Linked DNA regions of Homo sapiens: all the other regions are linked to region 1. The links are contacts of gene promoters, found by promoter capture Hi-C in blood cells and fetal thymus (Javierre and others, 2016). All regions are on one chromosome and are shown on one strand. The core of a region is centred on a gene start or on the middle of the fragment in contact, and the rest is flanking DNA. Distances in the headings are between cores, read along the strand shown. Region 1 holds the start of TSC22D3 (TSC22 domain family member 3). Region 2 overlaps MORC4 (MORC family CW-type zinc finger 4). Region 3 overlaps TBC1D8B (TBC1 domain family member 8B).

Region 1 (3,922 bases), core at 42-2,541:
TGCAATCGCTACATCTATTGAAAGGGTAACGACAGACGGAGATCAACTAAGGTGGCAGGTAAGGTTCAGAAAAGGAGAAGGACAACAAATTTGGAGAAATAGGAGAAGGTAAGTGAAGTGAGGAAAAAGAGGGGGTGCTGAAGTAAGAAATGAGGGGAAAATAAGGGAAATGGCGGGGGTAGGGGAGAGAAAAATGAGAGAAAAGAGGAAAGGGGAGAAAGGGGAAATGAGGAAATAGAGAAAAGGAGAAAAGAAATAAGGAAAGAAAGGTAAAAGAATGGAAATGGGGGAGAAAGTAGAGGAAATGGGTAAAGAAAAGAGAAAAAATAAGGGAAATAGTGGAATGAGTGGAAGCAGAAGAGCAGAGAGAAGGAAGGGGAGGACTGAGGAGAGACGGCGAAGGGGCAGAGGGAAACCGGGACAGAGACTGCCTCTGAGGGGTTCAGGGAAGAGAGGACACAGCGAGCTGGGGAAAGGAGGTGACGATATCGTTAAGTAAGCAGAAAGAGACAGAAACTGAGGAGAGTTTGAGCGTGCTTCTCTGAGTTTTGCTTACGGCATTTATTGGGTACTCCTAATGTGTGCCTGGCACTCTCTGACTCTCTGCAGAGGCAACCGCTCTCCTTGCACGCCCCCCCCCCAGAAAAAGGGGGGCTTTGGAGGGCGGCAGTTTAAGGCTACAACACTTGGGGCTCTCGAGGGCGTCGTCTCTTCTGTAGGGGGACCCATTCGAGGTGAGACTAGAGACATTTGCCCTCACGCCGAGCTCGAGCCCCGCGAGACCGGGCCACTGAGGGGGCACGGCAGCCCGGGTGGGCTGCGTGCGTATTTCTGGCGGAGGATGCGCCATGAGCGCTGAAAGAGCCTGAACCGAAGCGTCCGGCTCGCCGAGAGAGTGAGAGCCGGGCCGGCTCCCAGGAGCGCGGGCGAGGGTGCGAGCGGCAGCGTGGATGCCAGGGCACAAGGGTGCGGGCGGGGTGGGGCGAGGGGTGGAGGGACAGGATCCAGCCGCTCGGGGCCCCCGCCCGCCAGCCGGAGAAGTGGCGGAGGACCGTTCTCCGCCGTCCCCTCTAGGGTAATTTACATGCTGTCATATCCCAGTGCTGACTCCCGGGCGTGCAGACCGCTAACTAGCTCACTCGCTCTCAGCTCCTGCCACCGCTCAGCCGTCACAGCCCAGGGGAGCCCGAGAGCCTGAGAGCCTGCAAACCGGGGAGGGAGGGAGCAAAGGAGGGAGGGAGCAAGGGCGCGCCCTGGCTCTCCCTCTGCCCTGCTGCCCGCCCTTCCTGCCTCCACAGGTCCGCCCCAATCCCCGCTCACACTTGGGAAACTTGGGACTGCGCTGGGGCCGCGTGTGGCACCTCAGGGGGGCGGCCCCCGGCCTCAAGAGGAGGGGGAGGAGAAGGAGGAAGAGGAGGAAGTGAGCCCGAAGGATCCGCTCGGAGCTGTTTGTCCAGCTGTTTCTATTCGCACCCGGAGCAGTACAGCCAGAAGGGGGCCGAGCCGAAGGTGGCTGGCTTTAGGCGCTAATTTCCAACTCTTTTCCTCACAGCTTGTCTTTTCCAGGCACCCTGGAGTCCCCTCAGGCCAGCTCGGTGGGCGCGCACCTGCCAGCCGCCCCTGACCTCGCAGGCCAGGCGACCTCCGAGCCTGAGAAGATGGCCCAGTCCAAGCTCGATTGCCGCTCACCTGTCGGCCTCGACTGCTGCAACTGCTGCCTGGACCTGGCCCATCGGAGTGGGCTCCAGCGAGGCAGCAGCGGGGAGAACAACAACCCGGGCAGCCCTACAGTGAGCAACTTTCGGCAGCTGCAGGAAAAGCTGGTCTTTGAGAACCTCAATACCGACAAGCTCAACAGCATAATGCGGCAGGATTCGCTAGAGCCGGTGCTGCGGGACCCCTGCTACCTGATCAACGAGGGCATCTGCAACCGCAACATCGACCAGACCATGCTCTCCATCCTGCTCTTCTTCCACAGGTGGGTGGCTCGGCACACGGCGGCAACTCGGTCCTTGCTCCCACCAGCCTCTGCTGCACCCTCATCTCTGGCAAAAGGGGCAACTAGGAAGTTCAGGAGGGGTACTGGGGAGGTCTGACTCAGGCTACAGTGACTGGACCTTGAGGTTGCCTGGAGTACCGCGGAGCTGAGGGGAGGACTGGCAGGTGCAAGCCCTATTCTGAAAGCTGCCTGCAAAGGCTTTCTGATGGGGACGCTGGGGCCTAGAAGGTGGGCAGACCCCAGATGGTTTGGAGGTAGCTGAAAGTACCCGCTCCTCAAATGCATACATTTCCATAGCCCCTTTGGAGATTCTGCCATGGGGTCTTCTTGAGTTCCAAGTTCTACCCTTCTCAAAAGCCCATCTCAAATGTGCAAAATCAGATTGAAACTACAAGGGCTTTAAAATTACTGAGTGCCCCTGACTGACAGTGAGGGCAAGCAAAATGTCAAGACAAATTAAACTGCTGGTGGTAGGAGAGGGAGATGGGGAGGGGAAAATTTTTAAAAATCAGAGACTTGTGAGAATTTCTTGAGCCTCTGGATGGGAGGGATTCGCCTCCTCCATGGATCACAGCGTTAAATTTCAAATGTAAGCTAAGCGCAACCCCAGAGAGCACCCTAGGACATCTTGAGTGCCTCAAGAACTATGTGTGGCAGGAGGGCGGATGAATCCATGTCGTTGCAGGCGTGTATTGGTGTACCGGTCAAGCTTTCTAGAAATCCTGCTGGGGAGGCAAGGAGAGGACAAGGGAGGGAAAAAACACAATGGGAAGACCCAAGGCAGCTGCTGTCCTTCAGTTTGAGACACTCTGGCAAGAACCAGTCTCTGGGAACAACTGAGGCAATTTAGAGGCAGGGCAGACAACATCAGGAAACCCAGCCATGGATTTAGTGTCCTTAGCGCCATCAGGATAGGGCACCAACATGTGTGTGTGAGTGTATAAGCGAGGATTTATTCTTGCTCAACAACACAGGTTATGTAAGAGAAAGACATCGCCACTGTGGGAGACCTGGGTTGTAGTACAAGTTATGGCTTCACCTGTTTGTATGAGCCTGAGCAAGTCGCCTGACCTCTCTAGTCTCTCCAAGGTTCCTTTTAGCTCTGAGATTCTAGGCTGTAGGCAGGCGATGTGCCCAGACAAAGTGATAAGAAATTCTGAGCACCTACAAAATATTTAGAATGCAAGCAGGCTCAAATAGGAAATTTTAAAAGCAATCGAGAAAGGCAGGCGCTATTCTCACTTAATGCTAAGAGCAGGTTTGCCTCCCTTGCCCCAAGACAAATCCACCATCGCCTCCCGCTCAGCCCAGCCCCAGTGATTCTGGGCAAGACAAGCAGGGCCGCTAACCTCGTTAGTGTTATTATAACAAGTCGTATTCCTCGGGCATTTTCGACACCATTGAAGCCCTTTCTCATCTATTATTTCACTTTAGGCATCAAATTATCTCATTGTCTAAAATAAACCAGGCTGAATTTTTAAAAATAATAAAATAAAATAAACCAGGCTGCGGGCAGAAAGGTTTCGAGGGAATCTTCATTTCTAGTGAAAGATTACTACAAGTGTATTCAGCCCACAGACGTTGAAATCCTGCCAAGCGAAAGCCCTAACAGGCTCCTAAGGATCCCGCCTGTCTCTGTTGGAGAGTGGCAGTGGGGGAGGGGTAGTAGAAAAACCTGGAAAGAGCGCTTGTAGCATTTGCATTTGTTCAACTGGGAGAGAAACTGCCACTCCAGGCTTTAGGAAAGTGTGAGAGGGGGCGCCTCTTCTGGTTCTGGCCCTAGGAGGGTCAAACCTGGGTGAGGGAAGTGTGAGGCTAAAAGCCTGAGATCAAAGTGTTTCCTTCTGCCACACCTCGGGAGCATCCTGGTTGTTTGGGTTTGTGGAAAGGGAATACCTCCTTTGTCATCTACTCCACTAATAC
Region 2 (3,545 bases), core at 289-2,788, 790 kb after region 1:
CCGAACATGAGAACTTAGGTGGAATAAAAGAGCACACGGGAAGAGTTAAGTGAAACACAGTAACAACAACAAAAATCCAGAGTTTATAGCTCCTCTCTTCTCGTTATTCTTATCCTTTTCCATTCTGGTTCTGGCCTGGCACTACTACTTATCTTCTCAACCTTGTATCATAATTTGGTCTCCTCAAATTAACACAGTGAGGGTTTATACTTTCAAAGGGGAAAAGAGGTGATAGATGGTGGAAGAGGCTAAAAAATTAAGGGAGTTGTAATCTCCCTATTTTCACCACTTTCCCTTGATCACCTAATTGAAGCTTTTGTGGTATAAGAGAAAGTTGAAGTCCGGTTAACGATACAAATTCATTTGAAGTGATGTGTAAGATTACTATTTATGAAGAGCCCTGAGCTTTAGATGTGACCTTAGGTCTGAAGTAGGAGTAGGGGATAGCACATGACAACTATCAGAATGACTTCTAGAGTTAGTTTAAAATTAATGTTTGAATACTACTTTATACTTAATGTATTTTGCATACAGTATATAATTTAATCCTCATAACAAACCCATTTTTTTTAAAAGCCAATTCTTCCACAAGAAAAATGGGAATGCCTGAATCTTACTATTATAAGTCTGTATCCTGGAATACTAAGGCCCATAGGCAACACAAACTGAAGTTCTTTTTCTTTTTTTTTTTCCCAAAGGACTGCTGCCATGGAAATTACCTTTTTCTGTCACTAGATTTATTTGTAGGATACACACAGCTCCTATAAAGTATCTACTCTAGGAGGACATATGGTATTATTGTATAATGCTTTGAAACAGAAAATTAAAAGGTGGTTCCCTTTCTTAGTGAGTAAACACAAAACCGCAATCTTCAGGAAGTAGAAATCAGATACCTCCGCTCTCCATGCTCAAAAGAGTAAAATTGTTAAAGATCAGCCTGCTCAGTCATGGTCTGACCAGAGTATCTATTTTATTGATGTTGAGAAGCACCTAATCTGTAATATATGAAGTCCTTCCTTAGACTATAAACTCTGAAGGCAAGAATCATGTCTCTTATTAAAAATGGTCTCTAGTGCTTAGCCCAATGCTTGGCACATTGTAGGTGCTTAGTTTAAATATTTATTGAATGAATGATAGTGCACAACATTGTAAAATTAGTCAATCTGGAGAGAAACAATCCTTTTTAGTATGATTTTTTCTTTTATTGATACCTAATATTTTACATATTTATGGGGTACATGTGAGTACTTTATACATGCATACAATGTGTAATGATCAAGTGAGGGTGTTTGGGGTTTCCATCACCTTGATAATTTATATGTTGGTAACATTGGAACTCCTCTTTTCTAGCTACTTTGAAATATGTGATGTATTATTGCTAATTATAGTCACCCTGGTCTGCTATGGAACATTAGAACTTTTTTCTTCTATCTAACTATAAGTTTGTACTCATTTGCCAAACTCTATTCATTTCTCCTTCTCATCCTGAGAAACAATCCTTACAATTAGTTTTATTGATGGTGAGGGAAGATATATAATCATTTTATTTTTAATTTTTAAAGTTCTGTTATTTTGGTGTGTACCTGAATGGAAAATACAAGGAAGGGAAAGGTTCTGGCTTCCAGATTAAGCTGATCAAAAGGGGCTACAGAGATTGTTGAGGCGCCTAAGTGAAAGGTCCTTAATGGAGCAAGAGAGACTTTATACTGCAACTGTTTGCTGATATTCAGAGGCAGAACTACCTATTTTTATCCTTTGGCCACATTCCAATGAACTGTCCCAGCAGATGGAACAGAGACTAAGAATTGGAAGGGTTATCCTTTGAGTGGAGAGTTGAAATTGTCAAGATACATGATCCCTGACTTTCAGATTTCTAGAGGATGATATAAACAGGTTAGGAGATGCCTAATCTAGTACCTCTGACCAATGACAATATCTGGAACTTTTGCTACCCTCTCTAGATAACTACATTTTTCACCTTACCCTAACTTTACTTCTACAGCAATCAGAGCTGTTTTATCTAGACAAGAAAGGCAGCTGCCCAAGGCCTTCTCCAGCTACGTTAGCTGGTGAAAAGGGGCCCTTTTTTACATTTATAAAGTGTGACTCTAACGTAATGGAACTATTTATGTATACACAAACCACACAGGAAAATTAGTCCCATTACCCCATAGTAATTTCCTATGTTTTTAACTTAATAGTTTTGCCCATAAATACCAAAAGGAATAAAAAAGGAAGGACTTTTTACAAGTGTTATTTATTTGTAGGCCAAATATTCTGCCTGTCACCTATCTTAGGATGCTTTTTACCTTTCTGATTTCTTTTTTTCTGATTTGTTTTTTCTTGTGTAATTGCAGCTTTGGCTTTACAGATAAAGTAATAAAGAAGAGCCAGTGTCCCATTGGGGTCTTTGGTAATGGTTTCAAGTCAGGCTCCATGCGGCTAGGAAAGGACGCCCTTGTCTTCACCAAGAATGGGGGTACTCTCACTGTTGGACTTCTATCACAGACCTATCTGGAATGTGTCCAGGCCCAGGCAGTTATTGTACCAATTGTTCCATTCAACCAGCAAAACAATATCCTTTCTGGAAATGGAGAATGTTGGTTAAAAATTAGTCTAATCTGAGTGTTTGATTAGATTCCAACTTCAGGTCAAATCCAACTGTCAGAAGTTTTAAAAGAGGTATTCAAATGTCTTAAATTTAACTGGGATTTTTCTCTATTAAACATTTAAAAAACAAGTAGAACATTGACATAAGCTTAGAAATGTTTTTGCTATATTGAAATTTTCATTGTTAGGCAGTTTGATCTATATAGTGTATCTCTGCTCTACCACCACCCCATGGTAAAGCTCCGAAGGCCTTCCTTTTTTTTTTTTTCCCCTAAGGATAGCTACATTTGCATTAATAGGCCTAGAAACATACTATTTATCAGCTTATATAATAGCAGAATAGCTCATTTCCCTATATCTGCACAGCTGTTACTTCTGTTAGACACCTGGTTCTCTTGACTGGAACAGTATAGCAATAAGGTTTTAACTTATTGCTTCCAAAGAAGTTAAAAAATTAAGCCTTTGATCTTTTAAATATAAGACTTTGTTTACATGATATCTTTGAAGCTATATTCTGCATGGGCAACTGATTTTGGAGCTTGTCTCTACAACCTTTCTCCATTTTTCACCTTTCCTCCTTCTATAGCAGTAATATGCATGCTGTATGTCTATAGTTTTGTCTAAATATGCAATCCAAAGGGCAGATCTTCCTTCTCAATAGCATCCTAAGATATTATTTTTTCTTTGACTATATTTGATTTTACAAAAAATGATTATTACCGAGGATTCATTGCCCAGCCTAGAAGCCATCTTGAACTATTCCATTTTCAACCGTGAAAATGACCTGCTGGCCCAGTTTGATGCCATCCCAGGCAAAAAAGGCACTCGTGTTCTCATTTGGAACATCCGCAGGTATAGTATTCCAAGGGTGATAGATTCTAATAAACAAAGGTAGTATGATGAAACACATTTTTATTTAATTTTAACTTTTAAAA
Region 3 (3,488 bases), core at 586-3,085, 900 kb after region 1:
TGTCTCAATAAAGAAAAAAAAAAAAAAGAAAAAGAAAGAAAAGAAAAGAAAAAGGAAAAAAAGACATCATAATAAATAATACTAATCTTTTTAAGTAAACCATTTTTCATGTTTAGTAGATATATTTATTTTTATAAAGACAAGTAAAGCCACCTTATAACATATTTAATTTAATGCATAAGGTATAATGAACTGGTTCAGTTTAACACAACTACGTAAGATTTTTAATATTATGAACAACCTGTTTGGTTAACAAGATAGCAGCTATAAAACTATAATGTTTAGTTTGTTTCTCCTGCAGACTCAGAAAATAAATGTTTTCTTTTTGCTTTGCATTTATAAACTTTTTGCAACTCAAAAAATCTCTTTCAGTATTCAATTTTAATTAATCTAGCCTAAAGTATAATACTCAGCAATCTGTACTATTCTGACTTTAAAATCATATCAAATATTAATAACATATATGCTCTTAAGAAAGTACCTTTCTTTGTAAATACAACTGACAAAATATTCAGCAAAGTGTGTACAATAGTGCCTTGTATACATGTGTCTTTCTAGAGCTACTTCAGTATAATTTAACAATCATTGCACAATAGCAGATGTATAATAGTTTCCATATAAACTATTATCTAAGCTGTAAAATATGGACATAGTTCAGCAAATCATTTCTGAGAAAAGGCATAGATGTTTATTTACCAACTATCTCTTTAAGTGGTAATTTCCTTGAAAAGACAAGGTTGATTAAATAATTTAAAGACACTACTAGTAAGTGTTTAGCTAAAACCAATTTATGGGATTTTCAAAGGCTCAACTTGAAAATTCTTGAACTTCTTTGAAAATAACATATTCTATGAGCGATGAAGCCCCATGTGTTAAGCTTTGTTCACAGTGGATTCTTCCCAAAGGCTGACTGTACCAACTCCCTCCAAGAAAGGGAGACCTCTTGAGTCACTCTGAAGGAGGTCTGCCCTTTCATGGTTTCACATCTAGAAAAGTCAAAAGGCTTATAACCAAAGTCTTTTCTAAAGAAAGAAGCTCCAATGAATGATTTCTCCCCCTATTTTCTAAGTCAATTGATTAATAAATTGTCCTTGGTAGGAATAGCACAGGACAGTGGACAAGTATGGTTTGCTTTTTTTTTTTTTGAAAGTGCTAACAAAGCCCATTATCTCTAAATGGACTTGGTGTAATGACTGAAATATAAACAGCATAAAGTATATAGAAATTACACATCTAAATTGGATAGTCAAAACTTTTTAGACAGATGTCAGCAATTCTGTTACCTTGGCAATCATTACATACAAGTATACTTTATATGCTTGCCAGACTAATAAGATAATTCAGTCTTAGTGTAGCCATTCTTTACTATCTAATGTAAATTAACACATGACTGGTGAAAATCCAAAATCTAAAGCTAGAACCAAAACAGTCATAAGCTACTCTGAGACAAATACCACAAACAGCAGTGCCCAGAATTTCTAGTGATGTCTCGGTCTAATGAAAGACCTATACAGTTAATTGAACTGTTTCTTAGCCCTTCTCAGAAGGCTGATTTTACCCAGATTAAATCCAAATCCAATATTGTTTTTTTCTTTATATCAGCCCAGAATTTAGAGTTATTGATTTGCTTTTGTCAGTAACAGAGTTAGCAGTGTGAGTCAGCAGCCTCTGAACCCCTCAGGTAGGAAGACTGTAGAAGGTACTTAAAAAAGCATTTATTACTAGAAGACTGAATGAGATTAACTTAAAAAAATTAATAATATTTCAGTTAGATAACTTGAAAACAAGGGCCCCAAATGGTAATCTTTTAGATAATTTGGAAAGTAGGGTTTATCGATTGACATGACATATCAGCCTCACTAACACCCAAGCATAACACCGTCTTTTCAAAATAATCAGTAATTCATATGTAAATAGCAACACAAGCTAGTAATTTCCTTACTAAAAGTGATATGCTTGTGCCCTCTGGTGGTAACATTTAGCATATTCCCCTGATATTGCATATATTGTGAAATATAAAAAAGTATATTTGTATTTGAGAATATCATCAAAATTTGAGATAACAAATGTGGTTTGCTTTTTTGTTTTGTTTGTTTGTTTGTTTTAAAAAGTGCTAACAAAGCCCATTATCAACAACAAAGGAATGATGCATTGTGCTTCTGGATATATATTTTGGCCTTCAGACACATTGGTAACAAGATAAATCCCTGAGCCCTACTCACAGGAATCAAACTGACAGCTACAGGAATGTTAGTAAACTTGTCTATGATAGGCAATTCCTAGGGATTTACATCTTGGTTCTAGACCTTAACTGAGAAATTCTTGCATTTTCCAGCTTGGCTTTTACATCTATGGGTTTCTCAAAAAACCTCACCAATGCTGGTTCATTCAACAGCGATGCAAGAATCTGTTCAAATGCAAATGACCACTGAGGTTCCTCCCTAAAGGAACAAGGATCTTTCTCCAAGTGGCTCCCTGTTTTTTCCTCACTGGGTCCTCCAGAACCACAGACAGTACCAGAGAATCCTTTGGCTGATGATGTAGGGCTATGTAGTTTCCTTCCAACTTCTTCCATCCTGAGTAAAAGGCTGGTTACAACAGCAATGGCTTGATATAATGATTCTTCTTCAGGGTCCTCATGAAATAAGTTATAGAGGGTCTTTGAAAACTGAATAAACTGAGACTAGAAGACACAAGTTGAAAATATCACGTTTGAATATTAGACTTAGCAAATATAAAGAGAACTTAGAAGTGAATAGTCTCCTATATAGGATTTGTACCATAGAAGCTTCACCCTAGAAGTTATAAGAACTGGTGATTAACCCCAAAATACATATTGGTTCTAGAAAGGTGAGTATGGGCCAGGCGCGGTGGCACATGCCTGTAATCCCAGCACTTTGGGAGGCCGAGGCGGGTGGATCATCTGGGGTCAGGAGTTCGAGACCAGCCTGGCCAACGTGGTGAAACCTCTACTAAAAATACAAAAAATTAGCTGGGCGTGGTGGCAGGCACCTGTAATCCCAGCTACTTGGGAGGCTGAGGCAGGAGAATCGCCTGAACCATGGAGGCAGAGGTTGCAGTGAGCCGAGATCGTGCCATTGCACTCCAGCCTGGGCAACAAGAGAGAAACTCCATCTTAAAAAAAAAGATGAGTATGAACCATGGAAGAAAATTTCATTTAAGTGCTCTCACTTATTGCCTAATAGTACATTTTATCCAGACTAATTCCTGGACTGTTTGCCTGCCAGCATTACTTAAATGTTAGGTGCTATTTTTTTTTCCTTAGACAAGGCCTTGCTGTGTTGTCCAGGCTTGAGTACCATGGTGCAATCATAGCTCACTGCAGCTTCCAACTGCTGGGCTCAAGTGATCCTCACACCTCAGCTTCCCAAGTAGCTAGGACTATAGGCACATGCCACCATGCCTGGCTAATTTTCACATTTTTTGTAGAGACAGGATCTTACTATGTTGCCTGGGCTGATCTCAAA

What was found. The method cuts DNA at HindIII sites, captures the fragments that hold promoters and counts their contacts. A CHiCAGO score of 5 or more calls a contact.
Region 2: a fragment that was not itself captured here is called in contact with the fragment with the promoter of TSC22D3 in region 1 in 1 of 17 cell types (total B cells); the score reaches 5.5 in total B cells.
Region 3: a contact is called between a fragment that was not itself captured here and the fragment with the promoter of TSC22D3 in region 1, in 1 of 17 cell types (monocytes). The highest score is 6.8, in monocytes.

The regions. Positions count from the first base shown.
Region 1 is chrX:107,773,156-107,777,077 of GRCh38, reverse strand. TSC22D3 (TSC22 domain family member 3) reads left to right here and starts at 1,291. Exons shown (of 3, transcript NM_198057.3): 1 at 1,291-1,978. The coding sequence starts at 1,659. RefSeq lists silencers at 952-1,011, 985-1,279 and enhancers at 1,042-1,091, 1,368-1,944, 1,945-2,522. The HindIII fragment of the contact is 8,217 bases long and covers 1-2,710 here.
Region 2 is chrX:106,985,013-106,988,557 of GRCh38, reverse strand. MORC4 (MORC family CW-type zinc finger 4) reads left to right here. Exons shown (of 17, transcript NM_024657.5): 4 at 2,358-2,575; 5 at 3,315-3,462. Among named protein-coding and RNA genes, the nearest start is that of MORC4, 13 kb to the left of the region's middle. The HindIII fragment of the contact is 2,445 bases long and covers 316-2,760 here.
Region 3 is chrX:106,872,765-106,876,252 of GRCh38, reverse strand. It overlaps TBC1D8B (TBC1 domain family member 8B), which reads right to left. Exons shown (of 21, transcript NM_017752.3): 21 at 103-2,683. The coding sequence ends at 2,288. Among named protein-coding and RNA genes, the nearest start is that of RIPPLY1, 29 kb to the left of the region's middle. The HindIII fragment of the contact is 1,911 bases long and covers 880-2,790 here.